Linked DNA regions of Homo sapiens: all the other regions are linked to region 4. The links are contacts of gene promoters, found by promoter capture Hi-C in blood cells and fetal thymus (Javierre and others, 2016). All regions are on one chromosome and are shown on one strand. The core of a region is centred on a gene start or on the middle of the fragment in contact, and the rest is flanking DNA. Distances in the headings are between cores, read along the strand shown.

Evidence for each region. The method cuts DNA at HindIII sites, captures the fragments that hold promoters and counts their contacts. A CHiCAGO score of 5 or more calls a contact.
Region 1: a contact is called between a fragment that was not itself captured here and the fragment with the promoter of VWA1 in region 4, in 1 of 17 cell types (naive CD4 T cells). The highest score is 5.3, in naive CD4 T cells.
Region 2: a fragment that was not itself captured here is called in contact with the fragment with the promoter of VWA1 in region 4 in 2 of 17 cell types (endothelial precursors and activated CD4 T cells); the score reaches 6.4 in endothelial precursors.
Region 3: a fragment that was not itself captured here is called in contact with the fragment with the promoter of VWA1 in region 4 in 2 of 17 cell types (naive B cells and naive CD8 T cells); the score reaches 5.7 in naive B cells.
Region 5: a contact is called between a fragment that was not itself captured here and the fragment with the promoter of VWA1 in region 4, in 1 of 17 cell types (total CD8 T cells). The highest score is 5.2, in total CD8 T cells.

The regions. Positions count from the first base shown.
Region 1 is chr1:1,129,294-1,133,307 of GRCh38, forward strand. All of the region lies in intron 1 of LOC124903820 (a long non-coding RNA gene), which reads left to right. Among named protein-coding and RNA genes, the nearest start is that of LINC01342, 5.7 kb to the right of the region's middle. The HindIII fragment of the contact is 4,801 bases long and covers 1-4,014 here.
Region 2 is chr1:1,714,795-1,718,412 of GRCh38, forward strand. CDK11A (cyclin dependent kinase 11A) reads right to left here. Exons shown (of 20, transcript NM_024011.4): 5 at 1,552-1,684. Among named protein-coding and RNA genes, the nearest start is that of CDK11A, 7.8 kb to the right of the region's middle. The HindIII fragment of the contact is 1,554 bases long and covers 924-2,477 here.
Region 3 is chr1:1,039,474-1,043,008 of GRCh38, forward strand. AGRN (agrin) reads left to right here. Exons shown (of 36, transcript NM_198576.4): 4 at 1,192-1,407; 5 at 1,700-1,924; 6 at 2,005-2,229; 7 at 2,483-2,689. Among named protein-coding and RNA genes, the nearest start is that of AGRN, 21 kb to the left of the region's middle. RefSeq lists an enhancer at 73-751 and a silencer at 1,307-1,516. The HindIII fragment of the contact is 3,981 bases long and covers 1-3,528 here.
Region 4 is chr1:1,433,534-1,437,091 of GRCh38, forward strand. VWA1 (von Willebrand factor A domain containing 1) reads left to right here and starts at 2,157. Exons shown (of 3, transcript NM_022834.5): 1 at 2,157-2,288; 2 at 3,394-3,558. The coding sequence starts at 2,216. LOC107985729 reads left to right here. Exons shown (of 4, transcript XM_017003066.2): 2 at 430-538; 3 at 663-869; 4 at 1,003-2,016. The coding sequence ends at 1,617. LINC01770 (long intergenic non-protein coding RNA 1770) reads right to left here and starts at 1,040. Exons shown (of 2, transcript NR_125996.1): 1 at 655-1,040. RefSeq lists silencers at 916-1,210, 1,957-2,326, 2,085-2,274 and enhancers at 1,068-1,811, 1,071-1,130. The HindIII fragment of the contact is 8,860 bases long and covers 1-3,558 here.
Region 5 is chr1:1,111,271-1,114,782 of GRCh38, forward strand. All of the region lies in intron 1 of C1orf159 (chromosome 1 open reading frame 159), which reads right to left. Among named protein-coding and RNA genes, the nearest start is that of C1orf159, 3.1 kb to the right of the region's middle. RefSeq lists enhancers at 519-1,020, 1,239-1,533. The HindIII fragment of the contact is 804 bases long and covers 1,598-2,401 here.

The DNA of each region.
Region 1 (4,014 bases), core at 722-3,221, 300 kb before region 4:
GCCTGTGAATGACCCAGCCAGGGGGCCCTCAGAGGGGGAGAGAGACTGAGAAGCCATGATTTACATTTCCTGGCAGAGAGCTCTTGCAGGGAAACCAAATTTATTCCAGTTGACAAGGTGCGTGGGCATTGGGAACAACGTGGGTGGGGGCACAGCCTCCTCTGTCCCGGCCGAAATCCAGTCCTGCAGAGATTTGGAGCACAGAGCATCAGGGCCGCCTGTGAGGCACAGAGCGAATGGGGCACCAGCCTGCCCTCGGCCTCAGACACGGAGAGGCTCCCACGGCACTGAGCCACGCATGGCCACGCGACAGAGGGACAGAATGCCGTGGCCGTGTAGGGGAGCTGCACTCTGCGTGGCCCTGGGATGGGAAAATCCAGGGAAACAGACACTGTTATGGATGTGAGCATCGGCTGCCAGAACGAGAGGAAGCAGAAGAGGGGAAAAGGCCGATTATCGTAGAAGAGTTAGGAAAATCAATCAAAGATACCCCCTTGAGAACAGTTAAGTTCACAGCTGTGAGTTCTGGAAACCTTTATGTTTTAAAAATGATTCCGAGGACTCAGAGGGTAAAGCTCGCACCAACTTAATTTGTTATTGCCTTTTCTATCAAAGTTATGCTTGTGGCCGGACACAGTGGTTCGCATTTGGGAGGTCAAGGCGGGCGGATCACTTGAGGTCAGGAGTTCGAGACAAGCGTGGTCAGCATGATGAAACCCTGTCTCTACTAAAAATACAAAAAAATTAGCTGGATGTGGTGGCGGGCACCTATAATTCCAGCTACTCTGGAGGCTGAGGCAGGACAATCGCTTGCACCTGGAAGGCGGAGGTTGCAGTGAGCTCAGATGGCACCATTGCCCTCCAGCCTGGGCAACAGAGTGAGACTCTGTCTCAAAAAAAAAAAAAAAAAAAAAAAAAAAAAACCAGTTATGCCTGTAGGTTGCTTGAGAGTCAAACACTTCTGCAAGGCTTGGACACATATGATCTTCAGGCCGCGCCGAGGCCACCAGCTCCGTGTGCTGGGAGGCTCCTGTGTTTACTTCCAACGTCACTGGCAAACGGCAGCTTCTCAGCACTCCAGCTTCAGGGTCAGCCCTGAATCTGCCCTGTGGAAGGGGCTGTTTGCCGCCCTCCCACCTCTCGTCCCGCCGTCACGCGCCGCGCCTGGTCTCTGCTGTCACTCTGCTGGGCGCCGGGGACTAGCTTGGTGCCAGGTCCACCGTGGCCGCCTGTTCTCACCCGAACTCTGAGCTGTTTCCCTGAAGTTAATAATCGCCTTTGCTTTTCTTCTTGCTTAGCTTTCTCTGAACTCATTACTAATTCAGCCTCAGACTCTCCCCCATGACTTAAATTCCGGCACGCCAGGTATTTCTGAGGGGCCTCCGGGAGCCTCCTGCCCTGCCCGGGGCTGGTCGGCTCCCTCGGGCCTGGGGCAGGGCTGGCGTCTTGCAGGCTTCGTGGTCCGTGTCACAAAGGTCCCATTGCTTCTCCCCTGGGTGGGATTTTCCCGGGCCCCACACCTCCCCTTTCTTGTCTTCTCAGTGTTTTGGTGGAACAAGCCCCTCGCAGCTCCCCGTGAGGTGCAGGGGGTGGGCCCCCACCACGCCCACAGCTGCAGCTGCCTGTGAAGGGCACAGGGCGGGCCCCCACCAAGGCCTTCGCTTCCCTGCGAGTTGAGAAAACCTCGCCGCAGGGTCCCCGGCTCCCGAGGCTGCTGTGGGTCCGGCAATGGCATCCCAACCCCGGGGCCTTGGTATGGAACCTGTTTCTGCGGGTTTTTTCCTGAAAGTTTTTGGGGCCTTCTTTTTGTCTCCATCTCTGCTGTCCTGTGAAGGTGGATCTTTGTGTGGTTCCGTTTTCATCCCTTTCACGGGGTCCTCAGTGGCTCTTTCTGTCTGGAAATGCCTGAGCTTCGGCTCCAGGAAATGTTCTTGAATTACAATTTTTAAATGATTTTGTTCTTTATCTTTTCTTTTTGTTGTTGCTCTCTCTTTCTCTGGTGAATATTGCTGCAATTTGGAGCAGGTCCTCTAATCACCTTTTCTATCCCATTTTCTTTGCCTTTTCACGTCACGTTCGGGGAACGTCCTGGCTCCGTCCCTTCCAGCGCTTTTCGTTTCTGTCCTCGGAGTCATTCTTTTTAAGACGGAGTCTCGCTCTGTCGCCCAGGCTGGAGTGCAGTGATGTGATCTCGGCTCACTGCAAGCTCCGCCTCCTGGTTCACGCCATTCTCCTGCCTCAGCCTCCCGAGTAGCTGGGACTACAGGTGCCCACCACCATGCCTGGCTAATTTTTTGTATTTTTAGTAGAGACGGGGTTTCACCGTGTCGGCCAGGATGGTCTCGATCTCCTGACCTCATGATCCGCCCGCCTCGGCCTCCCATAGTGCTGGGATGACAGGCGTGAGCCGCCACGCCCGGCCCCTCGGAGTCGTTCTTTCTGTTGCATCCTCATGGTTTTCTGTGGCCACGTGCTTTCGCTCATCTCTTCGAGGACGTTCCTGATAGTTTGTGCCTCTTCTTTTCAAGGCTTCTTCTCCTTGCACAAGACGGTCTGGAGAAAAACCCGCATTTCCTTCCGTCACACTGACCACATTTAACTTAAAATGGGAAGAGAGCAAAACATTCCACAGGCAAAGTCAGGGGACTATTTTAATGACAGAGACACATGGTTGAAATCAATGCTGCACTCTGAGCCCTTAGAAACCGTCGCAAAGGACTCCACGGAAGGGTGGGGGCAGCCCCAGCGAGGTCGTCAGGGAGCAGAGCCCGAGTCATGGGACACAAGGCCGGACCCCTCACCGCCAGGGAAGCGGAGTCACAGGCACGTGGCCCTCTGCGCCCAGGGTCAGGGCACGGGAGGCAGAGCCTGAGACGGGGGTGCCCATGCAGGGTGTGCTGGGGGTGGGGTTGTGGGGCCTCTCAGGGGCAAGGGGCAGGACCGGACAGCAGAGAGATCCCACTCCTGCCTGAGACCCGCCGCCATCGCCGCCGCGAGCCCTGCGTTGGGCATTGGGGCCAGGCACCTGCCAGGAGGGCCTCTTCCGAGGTGGGGTGTCACCTGGGATGTGTCCGCTGGCAAATGGGAGAAACACCAGGGCGGCTGCCGGGGAGGTCGATGTCAGGGAGCCCGTAGCCCTGAGCCCATGTGTGGAGGAAGCCCTTTGTCTGAGGAGCCTGCGGCCGCCTTGGACCCTGGATGCTTGCAGGGAATCTACACAGGGTTGTCAGGTACGACAAGGGTGCCCAGGGCTGAGGAGGGTGCCCATGCGGCCTCCTACAATGCGTATGGGAAGCCGGTGAACGCCCTCCCTCAGGGCTGGCCGGGTGCGTCTGGGGTTGTCCTAGCTCCAGCTGCTGGAACAAAATACCGAGCCTGGGGACTTAAGCAACAGAAATGTATTTTCTCACAGCCTCGGAGGGGGAGGGGAAGGTCCGGTGTCCCAGGGTTGCCGGGCTGGTTCTGCGGAGGCCTCTCCCGCTGCTGCCTTCTCTCAGGCGGCCTCTGCGCAGGTCCGTCCCGTGTCCCTCTGCCCTAACCTCCTCCTGCAACTAGGACACCAGTGGGACCCGGCCAGGGCTCATCCTCACGGCTGCTTCCCACATACTCACCTGTCTCGTAGCCCCTTCTCCACACACGCTCGCGTTGTTGGTACTGAGAGTTTGGATTCTAACCATGAACTCTGGGGGCACAACCTGCCAGAGGGGTCACTGTGTAGCCCGGGGGACCTTGCAATGTCTCATCCTTAAAACCCCAGGAAGAGCAGAGCTCTGCTGCGTGTGCTCGCGGGTTCCGCCTGAGAGCAGGGTGGTTCCGGGCTGTGTGTTCCGCCTGAAAGCTGAGTTTTAGGAGCAAGCAGGAAACACAGAGGAGAAGGACCAGGAACCCTGGGGAGCCCGGGGGAGCTACAGGTGGAGAAAACTGCCCTGAGAGTGGTGGGGAGGGCAGGTCACACCCACCCCAGGGAAGGTCGCTTGGGTTTACGTGGAGACGTTGTTTTGGGGTGGCGGGGCC
Region 2 (3,618 bases), core at 451-2,950, 280 kb after region 4:
GTCCTTTCACGCAGCTGCATCCTCAGGGCTGGTCACAAGTGGGTGGCGGCTCGAGCTCTCTCCAGTCTCTGCTGCACGTCTTTGGCGGGATCACAGCTGCTCCCAACCACACTGTACTTCATTCTAGCAGACCTCTTGGCCTTTTCCTCCCTCCACTGAGGATGCTGGTGGGCAAGGCCACTGCCCACTGCTCTAAACGGAGTAACCCCTTCCAAGGCAGCAAGGAAACTGCAGGTCCTGCAGCTGCCCTGTCCCAGTGGAACCTCCGTGCTTCCAAGTGCAGAGTGGAAGCAGTAAAGGGAGCAGCTCTCAGGCCAGAAGGTCAGATTCTTACTGCTTTTACCCACAGCTCAGCAGTTTTCCAAGCATCAGTGCTTCTCAGATTATCCTTATCAGTTTCCTTTTTGTCAGAGACAAGGTCTCTCTACGTTGCCCAGGCTGGCGTCATGCGGTCCTCTGGCCTTAGCCTCCCACGTAGCATATGCTACCACACCCAGTTCTGGATTGGCTGATCTGAATCGGCCCTACCCAGAAGTCTGCCCCCAACAATTTTTGTTCATTCACTCTCCTGTCTTTACCTTCTGGGAAATCAATATGACAGCCCAAATTTCATCTACCAACCTCCACTTCTATCCCAAGCTCTACTCTCGTGGGACAAGACACACTCAATGTCTGGCACAGGGCGTGGCATACATGAATGTTTCACACACTAACAGGAACTAGGCCAACTGAAACCTTGCTCACCCAGCAGCGGTCTCGGACCTTGACCCCTGGGCCTCAGTGTCTCCCACACCCTTCGGCATCAACAAGAACCAGCGCCCTCTCATCATCTTTACATGCTGTGTACCCAGCCCTGGCTGCTGGCAAACATCGCTGCACACGCCCTTCCGCTTCAGACTCCTCTCTTCCTGGAGCAGCTTGCAAGCTTTCTGTGGACTCACTCTGAAGGCGGAGATGGGCCTGCTCGCACCTGGCCTACAGCCTTTTTCCTGGTTCACAGAACAGATCTGGGGCTACACCGATGTTCTTTCTTGGGAATCTGGCTCATAAAGGGGAACGAATATACAGACTAATGGCCAGGAGTCCTAGGAGTCCAGTGTCCCGATTTCCAGACTGTTTCAAGGTTTTTGGGATCTCCCTTCTCCTTTTTTTGAGACAGTCTCACTCTGTCAACCAGGCTGGAGTGCAGTAGCATGGTCATAGCTTACTGCAGCCTTGACCTCCCAGGCTCAAGGGATCCAACCACCTCAGCCTCGTAAGTGCTGGAATTCTAGCGTGAGCCACTGCGCCCGGCGGGACGTGCAGATTTCTGATCCCTTCATTGTCTTCCCTCAATCAAATCACACCCGTTCTTACTTCCAGATGCAGTGAAAACTCACTCCCTCAGGACAGTTCTCTTGGTCAGCCTCGTCCAGCGTTCACTGTGCTGTTTCCATGTCTACCACTTCTGCAACAAATGTGACTTCTATTGCCAAATTCTTCTTCATTGCTGTGACAGGACACACTACCACGGCCCTTTCATAAAGTCCTCAACTGACCCAGCCCACTCACCTTTCTCTCCTGGAATGCTCCCTTGCCATTTCCCTTCTCTTCTGTCTTTCCCATTCCCGGCGAGCTTTATCCTGTTCTTCTCGATGTCGTTTCCGACGTTCGTGCTCTCTTTCTTTCACTCTAGCATGCTTCCCTAATGAGAAATAAAGTGTCATGCAAAGAAACCTCACTTCAAAAATTTCACGAGGCCGGGCACGGTGGCTTACGCCTGTAATCCCAGCACTTTGGGAGGCCGAGGCGGGTGGATCACCTGAGGTCAGGAGTTCAAAACCAGCCTGGCCAACATGGTGAAACCCCGTCTCTACTAAAAATACAAAAATTAGCTGGGCGTGGTGGCAGGCACCTGTAATCCCAGGTACTAAGGGAGGCTGAGGCTGTAGAATCACTTGAACCTGGGAGGTGGAGGTTGCGGTGAGCCGAGATCGTGCCACTGCACTCCAGCCTGGGCGAAAAAGTGAGACTCCATCTCAAAAAAAAAAAAAAAAAAAAAAAAAAAAAAAAAAAAAATCACATGAAAATGAAATTAAATCAAGAACATTAAATATTTAAATAATGATGTTAAGTAATCCTAATCTTTTTTTTTTTTTTTTTGAAGAGACAGGGTCTCACTATATTGGCCAAGCTGGTCTTGAACTCCTGGGCTCAAGTGATCCTCCATCCTTGTCCTCCCAAAGTGCTGGGATTACAGGCCTGGGCCACTGCACCCAGTCGAATAATCATGATTTTATGTTAAATAAAAAACTTTGAAAATAGAAAACTATCTGCAGTAAGCGTCTAATTATGAAGAAAGAAGAAAAAAGAAAAACAATTCTGCTATCACAGAAGAGAATTGTAATATTCATCTTTTAAAAATTTTCTATACTGAATAAACTATAATTATCAGTTTTATAATACAAAAACCACTCTTCACAAAGACTACAGAACAAAGCTTTGCTATCAGTGGGCTTCTCCACTGTGCAATGAAGCCACATTAATTAATCAAGCGTATTTATAATAATGAGATTTCAATCGGGCTCCAGGTCCAATTTTCCTAACACCCGTAAGAATCTCCTGATGTTGGTACGAGATCAAACTGCTCAAGCCTAACCCATTCTTTGGACTTGAGCAAATACCCATTTTGGGGTGTGTTTTTCTCCTATACTTGTTGAATTCAGGTCATTTTAAATGTAAACAAACTGCTCCCAAACAATATAATGGGGGAGAGAAAACCCCAGAGGAAAAATGGACTAGCCATTCTGAATGGTCTGTGACACACGCACGCTTTCAGCTAGAGTTTGCTCTCTCTGGTTTTCGGTCTGTGACACACGCATGCTTTCAGCTAGAGTTTGCTCTCTCTGGTTTTCGGTCTGTGACACACGCACACTTTCAGCTGGAGTATCCTCTCTATAGCCCCTCTGAACGGTCTGTGACACACGCATGCTTTCAGCTAGAGTTTGCTCTCTCTGGTTTTCGGTCTGTGACACACGCACGCTTTCAGCTAGAGTATCCTCTCTATAGCCCCTCTGAACGGTCTGTGACACACGCATGCTTTCAGCTAGAGTTTGCTCTCTCTGGTTTTCAGTCTGTGACACATGCATGCTTTCAGCTAGAGTATTCTCTCTATAGCCCTTCTGAATGGTCTGTGACACACGCATGCTTTCAGCTGGAGTTTGCTCTGTCTGGTTTTCGGTCTGTGACACACGCATGCTTTTAGCTAGTTTGCTCTCTATAGCCCTTCTGAATGGTCTGTGACACACGCACGCTTTCAGCTAGAGTTTGCTCTTTCTGGTTTTCGGTCTGTGACACACGCATGCTTTCAGCTAGAGTTTGCTCTCTCTGGTTTTCGGTCTGTGACACACGCATGCTTTCAGCTAGGGTATTCTCTCTATAGCCCTTCTGAATGGTCTGTGACACACGCATGCTTTCAGGTGGAGTTTGCTCTCTCTGGTTTTCGGTCTGTGACACACGCATGCTTTCAGCTAGAGTATTCTCTCTATAGCCCCTCTGAACGGTCTGTGACACACGCATGCTTTCAGCTGGAGTTTGCTCTCTCTGGTTTTCGGTCTGTGACACACGCAGGCTTTTAGC
Region 3 (3,535 bases), core at 288-2,787, 390 kb before region 4:
CTCTGACATGACTTATTAATGATAATTGGACCCAATTAAACATTTATTAAATCCAGACAGCTGCAGCCGCTAACGGACCCTTCCCTGATCCTGGGTGGGCCATGCTGGGGGTGGGGGTGCTCAGGATGGGCTGCCGCAGGGGCTCTGGGTTTTAACGTGCCTGAGGCAGCTTTGTTGGCCACGTTGAGGTCTGGTGATGGGACGTGTGTCAGGCGCTGTGGTCTGCAGCTGTAAGAACTAAAATGAGCAACAGTTCCTGCACCTCTCCAAGAAGGAAGTTCGCTTTGACAGAGAGTGAGGGCGATGGAGGAGGCAAGAGTGAGGTGGGGGGCCGGGGGATGCCCAGGGAGGAGGGGGCGTGTGGGTGCCCCAGGGATCCCAGGGAGCGATGGGAGGCTGCAGAAGGGCACAGGCCTGCCGCGGGTGGGGGGCTGGCCAGGGAGAATAGGAGATAGTAGAGGCGGAGGCCAGGAATTTGCACTTCTCCAGGGAAGCTGGGGAAGAGTTGGGGAGAGGGAGGCAAGAAGATTCCCCACCCATCTTAGGCGCAGGGAGCGGTCAGGGAGGCGCCAGAGGTGGGCCAGAGCTGTGACCTGGCCTCACACCCCGTCCCGGTGGGGCTCTCAGGCCCCTGAGGGCCAGACGCGGGACCTGGGTGCGACCCGGGCGGGAGGCGGCAGGGCTCAGCTGTGCTGGACGCTGCAGCAGCGCGGGAAGGGGCTCCCCCGGCTCCATGGGGTGAATCGGTGAGGGGCTCCGGTGCCGATGTGGAAGGAGCTCCTGAGCAGAACTGGGGCCTGGACTGCTTGTGCCCGAGTTGGTTTCGAGGCGTCTCTGCTTTTCGCTGGAGGCCCACGAGGTGGGTGGGAAGTGGGTGCTCGCCCGTCGCAGAAACAGAGTCGGGTGCCGCCTGCGGCAGACGCCCCTCTCCGCGCCTGCAGGTGCGGGGTGGGGGAGAAAGGTCATCCCTGGAGAGGCCCGGGGCTGGCGGGAATCCTCGGCGGGCGGGGTCTGCGAGGGGCAGGGCCGGTCCTGTGAGCGCACGCACGCGTGTCCGTGTCCGTGGTGGACCCCCGATGCGGCGCGGGGGCGGGTGAATGCGCGGGCTGCGAGCACGGCAAGGTCTCTCAGGCTTGTGGACGTGGGTACGGGCGTCTCGGCACCCTGAGCTTTCTCCCCTACCCGCCCCAGCGTGCCGGGGAATGCTGTGCGGCTTCGGCGCCGTGTGCGAGCCCAACGCGGAGGGGCCGGGCCGGGCGTCCTGCGTCTGCAAGAAGAGCCCGTGCCCCAGCGTGGTGGCGCCTGTGTGTGGGTCGGACGCCTCCACCTACAGCAACGAATGCGAGCTGCAGCGGGCGCAGTGCAGCCAGCAGCGCCGCATCCGCCTGCTCAGCCGCGGGCCGTGCGGTGAGCGGGGCGGGGCCGGTGCCTGGGGCGGGGAGGGGCGGGGCCTATGAGATGGAGCGAGGCTGGGAGGGGCTTCGGGGCCAGTGGGGCGGGGGCAGGGGCGGGGCCCGGCGGGGAGGAGCGGGGCTGGGAGGGGCCTGGGGGGCGGAGCGGGGCGGGAGCGGGGGCGGGGCCTGCGGGGCCCGGCGGGGAGGAGCGGGGCTGGGAGGGGCCTGGGGGGCGGAGCGGGGCGGGAGCGGGGCGGGAGCGGGGGCGGGGGCGGCCCGTCTGACCGGCAAAGCCCCGCCCGCAGGCTCGCGGGACCCCTGCTCCAACGTGACCTGCAGCTTCGGCAGCACCTGTGCGCGCTCGGCCGACGGGCTGACGGCCTCGTGCCTGTGCCCCGCGACCTGCCGTGGCGCCCCCGAGGGGACCGTCTGCGGCAGCGACGGCGCCGACTACCCCGGCGAGTGCCAGCTCCTGCGCCGCGCCTGCGCCCGCCAGGAGAATGTCTTCAAGAAGTTCGACGGCCCTTGTGGTGAGCGCGGCGGCGGGCGCACGGCTCGAGCTCTGTGGGCGCGCGGCGACAGCGTCCTGACTCCTGCCCTCGACCCCCAGACCCCTGTCAGGGCGCCCTCCCTGACCCGAGCCGCAGCTGCCGTGTGAACCCGCGCACGCGGCGCCCTGAGATGCTCCTACGGCCCGAGAGCTGCCCTGCCCGGCAGGCGCCAGTGTGTGGGGACGACGGAGTCACCTACGAAAACGACTGTGTCATGGGCCGATCGGGGGCCGCCCGGGGTCTCCTCCTGCAGAAAGTGCGCTCCGGCCAGTGCCAGGGTCGAGGTGAGCGGCTCCCCCGGGGGAGGGCTCCGGCCAGTGCCAGGGTCGAGGTGGGCGGCTCCCCCGGGGGAGGGCTCCGGCCAGTGCCAGGGTCGAGGTGGGCGGCTCCCCCGGGGGAGGGCTGCGGCCAGTGCCAGGGTCGAGGTGGGCGGCTCCCCTCTGGGAGGGCCGCCTGCTCCCCTGCTCCCTGCACATCCCAGGGCAGGGATGGAGGGTGCTCCAGCCTCTCCGTGACTCCCTCACCCCTGCGTCCTAGACCAGTGCCCGGAGCCCTGCCGGTTCAATGCCGTGTGCCTGTCCCGCCGTGGCCGTCCCCGCTGCTCCTGCGACCGCGTCACCTGTGACGGGGCCTACAGGCCCGTGTGTGCCCAGGACGGGCGCACGTATGACAGTGATTGCTGGCGGCAGCAGGCTGAGTGCCGGCAGCAGCGTGCCATCCCCAGCAAGCACCAGGGCCCGTGTGGTGAGCGCCCCGGGGTGGAGGCCAGGCGGGGTGGGCTGCTCCTGCGTCAGTCCCTGCCTGGACATCACATGCCATCTTCATCCATCATGTTCCTCTTGGGGTCCTGGGAGTGGGCCGGTCCCTCTGGGAAGGCTCTGGGGAGGGTGGAGCCTGTGTGCGGAGGGTACCTGGATACCTGGGGGCTGGTGAGGCAGAGGCGGGGCCTTGTCCAGGCTCCCTGGTCCCTGACCTCAGCCACGCCCTCCCTGGGAGTCCTCTGGCCTGTCCGCATGTCTCCACGCTGTAAGCACAGGCTGTTGGGGTGGGCAGGCTGGACACAACACCAGGGTCCTCACTCTTGGGACATGGGCAGCCGTCGGCCGTTTTGGAGGCAGTGTCAGGACTTGAAGGGCCAGGGGGAGGCAGTGGCCGTCGTGTCCCGTCGTGTTCGTCTTGGTCAGTTCGCCCATCTTCTGGTCTTTCTCTCTGCGTCTGTCTCTTCTCTTTGGTCTCTTCTTCCCTGTCGGCTCCGCCTCTTGTGTCTTCCAGCCTGACCTGCTGGCAGGATGAGGTGCCGTGCCTGCCCTCCAGGAGCCCGCAGCCCGAGGTCTGCCCCTGGTGCGGCAGGGGGGGTGGCTTGCTGCTGCCTGGCCTTGTGGTCCTCAGAGCAAGTGGACAGACACCTCCTCCCCCGTGCAGCCCTGGGTGTGACTCTGGGGGTGCAGGCTCCTCCCACCCACAGAGAGCCCCCCCACATGCATGGGTGTCCTGGGGATGCTGGTGGTCAGGGGTCAGTGGCCTGGGCAGGCTGGGGAAGCCTGGCCCTCCCATAGCCTGCTGTGGACAATCAGGAAGCCCCAAGCTTGG
Region 4 (3,558 bases), core at 907-3,406:
GGGCTGTGCCTGCAGGAGGCAGAGGGCTCGGGGCCAGCACCCACTGTGATCTGGCCTGACCCGTCCTTGCCTCTGCCTCTTACCCCGGGCCCTTCTCCCTGGAGAGTGGAGGGTTCCGGCTGTTATATTTGTGCTTCCTCCGGTGTCTGCCTCAAGTCCGGCCCGGGCCCTGACACTGCACCTCTGGCTGACCCCATGCTCTCTGGGACCCTCTGTCCACGTCCCTCCTCCGGGGTGGAGACAGCGGGGGGAGGGCAGGACACAAGAATGAGTCCTGAAGACTGAGGGGCACGGGGAGAGCTGATGGGGAGGGTCTCCTAGCTGGAGGGACTCCAGGCAGAGCCGGGAGCAAGGCAGGTGGCTGAGCTCGGCCCAGGCTGGGTGGAGGCCAGGCCTCCTGTGCCTTCTCCCGCTGATGGCGAGCTGAAGGGAGGAGGGCGGCCGCTTCCTTGAGGGCCTGAGTCACAGCCAAGAAGACCCGCTCACTTTTTCCAGAAGTGAGGGAAACTTCCCCGTCAGCCCTGCAAGGCTGGCTGAGGTGTGACTGTGGCCCGCCTGCTGGGCGAGGGTGGGGGACAAGCGGGCCACTGGCTGTGAGCCTCCCCAGGGTGGGGGACCCTCGGCCCAGCTCCCTGCCTGACTACCTGGACGTGCCTCCGCAGGGTCTGCAGCCAGCTTCCGGTCAGACCCCAGGTCCTCCAGCGGCTGCGGCCTTCAGCGTCATCTCCACGGCAGCCCCTGTGTACTGGGGGCTGGGGGGCCTGGCGAGGCCCCTCGAAGTGGTACAGCTTGCACTCTGGGGACCCAAAGTCCCCCCACCGGGCCCAGGCGGAAGCACCAGGCATTTCTGGTCCCAGCCGAGGTCTGAGGTCTGTGGAGCGCAGCCAGCACCTCCACTGCCAAGATCCCCGGCAGGGGGGGTGGGGGGCGCCGGCGGGGACACAGCTCTCCCTTGTTCCTGCCGCCAGCTCCTCAGCCTCAGCCTGCTGCTTCCTTTTTTAGGCAAAGTCGAGTGCTGGCCGTCCGCACGGCCCCGCGGTGTCTCACCTGCCTGAAAGGGAGGAAGGAAGCCTGTGGAGCCCCATCCGTTCTCCCGCGGCGCATCCTCCAGGAGAGGGTGGGGAAGGAGGAGACATCCTGGCAGACACCCCCCCACGTCCCCCACCTCCCAGCTCTGAGCTGAGGAGGCCCTGGAAGAGGGCCATGGCTACTCCGAGGGAGGGCCGGGGTAGGGTTCTCCTGTCCAGGGGACACTGCTGGCCCAGCCCCACCCAAGCAGGGGAAATCTGCCCTGGGAGCCACTGTCCCTCAGGACGCCCCCTGCAACCAGCCACCTCTCGTCTGGGCCTCACCAAGACCCCAAGACTCAAGAGCTCCTGTCTCACCAGTGGGACCCTCCAGTCCTGCTGGGGGTGTGTCCTGGGTCCTGGAGTCTGGGCCCCTCACTGGGTAGGGTATATGGGTAACAGGCCCAGTGTGGTCCCACTGGACAGGGCCTCAACCAACCATCTCCCACTCCCATGCCTCTTCCTCCAAGAAGCCCAGGTGGCGTGGGTGCTTCGAGTCTCTCTCGAATTCCTGTCTTCTGTCCCCTTTCAAGCCACTGTGTCCTTGTAAGTTCCACCCCATGGTCCTTCCCATCCCTGCTGGTCAGTCCCTGGGATACATGTCCTGTTACTCCAGACACCTATCCGCCTCCAGCGCGGAGGCCAAGGCGAAACCACGGTCTGGACGTGTTTTTTTGGTGCCACCGCCAGCCCCTGGGGTTCTCTTGGGCCTGGCTGCTGGGACCCCAGCACCCAGAGTCACGGCAGTGGTGGGCATGGGGAGGGCCTAGCCTGGTACCTCCCTGCTCGGCTCCCGCGGCTGGGGGTCGGAGAGGGGTGGAGAGCGTGGGCCGCACAGCCTCGGCCGGGAGAGGGAGACTGGAGTGTGTGTGTGTGCGTGCCTGCGCGTGCGTGCCTCGGTCGTATCTCGGCTGGTGCTGCGTGTCCCTGCGTGTCGGGGTCCGCTCGTGCGCGCCTCTCCGGGGTCTGTGCGCGTGGCCCTCCGCTCGCGCCGGAGGGCGTGGGCGTGGCCTCGGCGTGGGTGTGGCCGCTCGGGGAGGGGCCTCCCGGGGGCGGGGCCGGCCTGGTCCGCGCGGTGACGCGCCCTGCAGCCCCGAGCGAGCGAGCGAGCGAGCGAGTTGCCGAGCGCGCCCCGTCCCTCGCGCGCGATGCTCCCCTGGACGGCGCTCGGCCTGGCCCTGAGCTTGCGGCTGGCGCTGGCGCGGAGCGGCGCGGAGCGCGGTGAGTGCGGCGGGCGGCCGGGCCGGGGCTGGGGCTTCTGGTGACCGCTCTGCGCCGCTGCCCGCGCAAGGCCGTCGCTGTCCCCTGCTCCGGACGGGCGGGCGGGCTGGGAGGCTGCGGGAGCCGGGCGGGGGCGCGGGCGGAGCGTCCTGCTCACCTGAGGCTGGCGGCCCAGGTGCTCCAGGCGACACCGTCCGTGAGCGCCGGGGCATAGGGGCCGTCCCGGCCCGCATCTCTGCGGGATCGCGGGCCTGGACAGGAAGAGGGAGATGTCTGTCAAGGGGGCACCCCTGCCTCAGTTTCCCTACCCTTGCGAGGGCCCTTAGTGGAGGGATGGTAGGGAAGTTGGAGTCGCCCCACCGCACTGGGGAAAACCGCAAGGCCGGGACTAGAATTGAGGCACGCTGGTGCCCTGGCTTGGTGGGGAGGGGCGGTGTAGGGGGCATCAGCCTCCACCCCGGAGGTGCCCGGAGGAAGGGGGAAGCCTGCGAGGGGCTGTTCCGGCTTTCAGGCTGCTGGGGGTTATATCTTGTTGTGTGAGTCCAGGTGGGCTGGAGGATGGAGGCCAGGGGAGGGGCCACCATCTAGTAAGCGGGGTCTGGGCTCCAGCCAGGCCATCCGGCGTGGTCATTGCTGTGCCTCCGACACCTTCCCCTGCTGCTGTGTGCATGCCCAGGGTGCCTCACCTGCAGGCTGAGCTGCGTGGCTGAACTCCAGCCTCAGGCTGCTCCTCTGAAAGCCATGCCTGGAGGGAACAGCCCCACGGCTCAGGCCTGTCCTGGGGGCCTAGGCCAGGACTCTTGGCTCCACCTGCTTGCAGGGTCTGTGAGGAATGGGAAGGTGTGGGGGCTTGGAGCGGAGAGTCGCCCTCTCACAGATGGGATAACACAAGCCCAGAGAGAGCCCTAGATCCCATGGCCAGTGTGCAGTGAAACCCCCAAAAGTACAGGCCTCTTGCTTAGAGTTCCTCTTTCCCCCAACCTAGGACCTTTGGGAGAAGGCAAGCATCCACTTAAGGAAAGCTGGGGCCCTGGGGGACCCTGCCTTGCTGTGGGGCTGTCTGGGGGGCCCACACCTGAGGCTGAGCATTCCTCCTTTCCCCCAGGTCCACCAGCATCAGCCCCCCGAGGGGACCTGATGTTCCTGCTGGACAGCTCAGCCAGCGTCTCTCACTACGAGTTCTCCCGGGTTCGGGAGTTTGTGGGGCAGCTGGTGGCTCCACTGCCCCTGGGCACCGGGGCCCTGCGTGCCAGTCTGGTGCACGTGGGCA
Region 5 (3,512 bases), core at 750-3,249, 320 kb before region 4:
CAATCCCATCATTTTGGGAGGCCAAGGTGGGAGGATCGCTTGAGCCCAGGAGTTCAAAACCAGCCCGGACAACAGAGTGAGATCTCATCTCTACCAAAAAAAAAAAAAAAAAAAAATAGCTGGGCTTGGTGACGTATACTTGTGGTCCCAGCTATTTGGGAGGCTGAAGTGAAAGAATCTCTTGAGCCTGGGAGGTCAAGGCTACAGTGAGCCATGATCGCACCACTGCACTCTACCTGGGCGACAGAGCCAGACCCCGTCTCAACAACAACAACAAAGAACTGGTTTCAAGAAAAAAATGATGCCTCAGGTCACTGTGATTTTAAATAAGTAACATCTTGCAAAACAACCCTGTAAAAGCAACCACCGGCTGGGGCAGTGGGTAGACCACACCCACGCTCACCGTAACTCCAGCCGCCCAGGCAGCAGTAACTGAAAAGGGGAGGCGGGAGGGTCCACTGGCGGGTTTCTCACGCTGCTGAACCTCGGTAAACACAGCCCCGAGGGCTGGCTGGAGCTTCCACTGCATCCGTGTAGCTAATGCTGGTCATCTTCGTAGCAAGCAAAGGAAGCCAACGTGAAACGTAGCTTTAAGGGCCCAATAAGAACTGTCTGGGGCCTCTCTACCTAAAGATCCCTCTCGTGCTTTGATAGAAAACAAATACCGCAAACCCCTTGATGGGGTGTAAAGGAGACATCCCCCTTTGTTGACATGCATGGTAGTCGCTGCCCACCTACCCGTGGGCTCAGCACACCGGAGTCGGGCGGTTGCCGTAGGTGGCTCAGCAGACGTGAGCAGGGCAGGATCGGGCCCATCCCCCCACCGGGAATGTCAGGCCACCATCAGGTGATGGTCAGGTGGCTGTTAACTGTCTAAAAGAACTGGTTGCACCCAGCGCCAGGGAAAGACAGGCTCCCAATAGCTAGAAAACACATGAAATCCGGTGATGGGCAGCTTCCCGATACGATCTCAGGAACTGGGCGAGTTGGCTCAAGCGTGTGCACTGAGAGGCAAAATGGCGGCGTGTAACCGTTCTATGACCTTCTAGGGACGTTTGACAGGTAACGGAAGAACGCCTCAGGTGAGCATGGGCACTACTCCAGTGAACACACGGCGCACGGTCCCTCCCTCCAGTGAACACAACGCACACGCTCCCTCCCTCCAGTGAACACACAGCGCATGCTCCCTCCTTCCAGTGAACACACGGCACATGCTACCTCCCTCCAGTGAACACACGGCACATGCTCCCTCCCTCCAGTGAACACAACGCGCACGCTCCCTCCCTCCAGTGAACACACAGCGCATGCTCCCTCCCCCCAGTGAATACACGGGGCATGCTCCCTCCCTCCAGTGAACACACCGGGCATGCTCCCTCCCTCCAGGGAACACATGGCGCATGCTCCCGCCCAAGTACTAGCAAGATGCTGCATGGGTGGACAGCCCACCCTGAAGAAGGATCAGGGGAGAAGGGGTGCAAGACCCCAGAAGCCTGCCAGGCTATAAAACCCCAAGTCAAAAGGTGAAACCGCACACCTGATCTCTCACATCGCCCGTCTGGCCCTCCTCCAAGGGTACTTCCTTTCCTTCCTGCTCTAAAGCTTCTTCAACAACTTTCACTCCTGCTCTAAAACTTGCCTTAGTCGGTGGGGTGCGGTGGCTCACGCCTGTGATCCCAGCACTTTGGGAGGCTGAGGTGGGTGGATCATCTGAGGTTGGGAGTTCGAGACCAGCCTGACCAAAATGCAGAAACCCCTTCTCTACTAAAATACAAAAAATTAGCCGGTTGTGGTGGCAGGCACCTGTAGTCCCAGCTACTCGGGAGGCTGAGGCAGGAGAATGACATGAACCCGGGAGGCAGAGCTTGCAGTGAGCCGAGATTGTGCCACTGCACTCCAGCCTGGGCGACAGAGACAGACTCCATCTCAAAAAAAAAAAAAAAACTTGCCTCAGTCTCTCCTTCAGCCTCATGTCCTTCCATCAAATTCTTTCTTCTGAGGCAGCGAGAATCGAGGCCGCTGCTGACATACTTTGGTGCTGAAACTCAGATACATTCTGCCAGTAATAGAGCTCTGAAGGCTCACCTGAGCTCCACACTCCACCTCGGCACACGCAACCCTCAGCCAGAGTGGTGAGAAGAGGTGGCTCTTTCTTTTCTTTGTGAAACAGGCTGGAGTGCATCGTTGCGATCTCGGCTCACTGCAGTCTCCACCTCCGGGGCTGAAGCGATCCTCCTGCCTCAGTCCCTCGAGTAGCTGGGACTGTTAGTGGCAGAATATGTCCCACTTCTGACACCAAAGCATGTTAGCAGCAGTGAACCTCAATTTTTCCCTCCTCAGAAGAGTTTGATGGACGGGTAGGAGGCAGAAGAGACCTTAGAGCAGGAGCAACAGTTTATGAAGAAGCTTTAGAGCAGGAATGAAAGGAAGTAAAGCGCCCTTGGAAGAAGGCCAGGCAGGAGACCTGAGAGATCAAGTGCGCAGTTTGACCTTTGACTTAGGGTCTTCCACGCTGGAGGCTTCCGGGGTGTTACGTCTCCCGATTCTTCCCTCGGGGTGGGCCGTCCACCCGCACAGCGGCTGCGGGCACTTGGGAGGGAGCATGCACAGAGTTTACTGGAGTTGTGCGCACGCTCCCTCGAGGCCTTTTTTTTTTTTTTTTTTTTTGAGATGGAGTCTCGCTCTGTCACCCAGGCTGCAGTGCAGTGGCGCAATCTCGGCTCACTGCAACCTCCGCCTCCCGAGTTCAAGCGATTCTCCTGCCTCAGCCTCCTGAGTAGCTGGGACCACAGGCGCCCGCCACCATGCCCGGCTAATTTTTGTATTTTTATCAGAGACGGGGTTTCACCATATTCGCCAGGCTGATCTCAAACTCCTGGCCTTCTGATCCGCCCCCCTCCCCCCACGGCCTTGCAAAGTGCTGGGATTACAGGTGTGAGCCACCGCGCACAGCCAGGGCCGCCTTCTCTTACCAGCCAAATGTCCCTGGTAGAGGGGGGCCCCTCTTCTGCCCTGCTCATGTCTGACTAGCTACCTACTGTAACGGGCCACAGGTGCTTGCCCCCATGCCTGGATAATATTTTTTATTTTTTATAGAGACGAGGTCTCCCTATGTTGCCCAGACTGGTCTCAAGCGATCTCCCACCCCAGCACCCACAGCGCTAGCTGTTCTTTAAATGAGCTACCCAGTAAGTCAAAGCTCAGGTGGAGAGCAGCCGCAAGGCAGGGAGCAGCTGGGAGGTATCTCAGGGGTTCCCGGGATGCTGCCTGTGCACCCCAGGGCTGAGGTGACTGCGTGTGGAAACACCTGCCTGACTGGCTTTTAGGAGGAGTACTGGGGGCGGGATGTGTGTCAGGAAAACAACGTTTCTGTATAATTCATAAACATGTATGTTAAAAACAACGTGGCCATGACGGATCCTGGCTGAATGCAAACGGGGAACATAAACCTGAGTAATCAGGCGCATCACTGAACATCCCAGGCGGCCGCCCCTACCCTGGGGCTCAAAACCGGC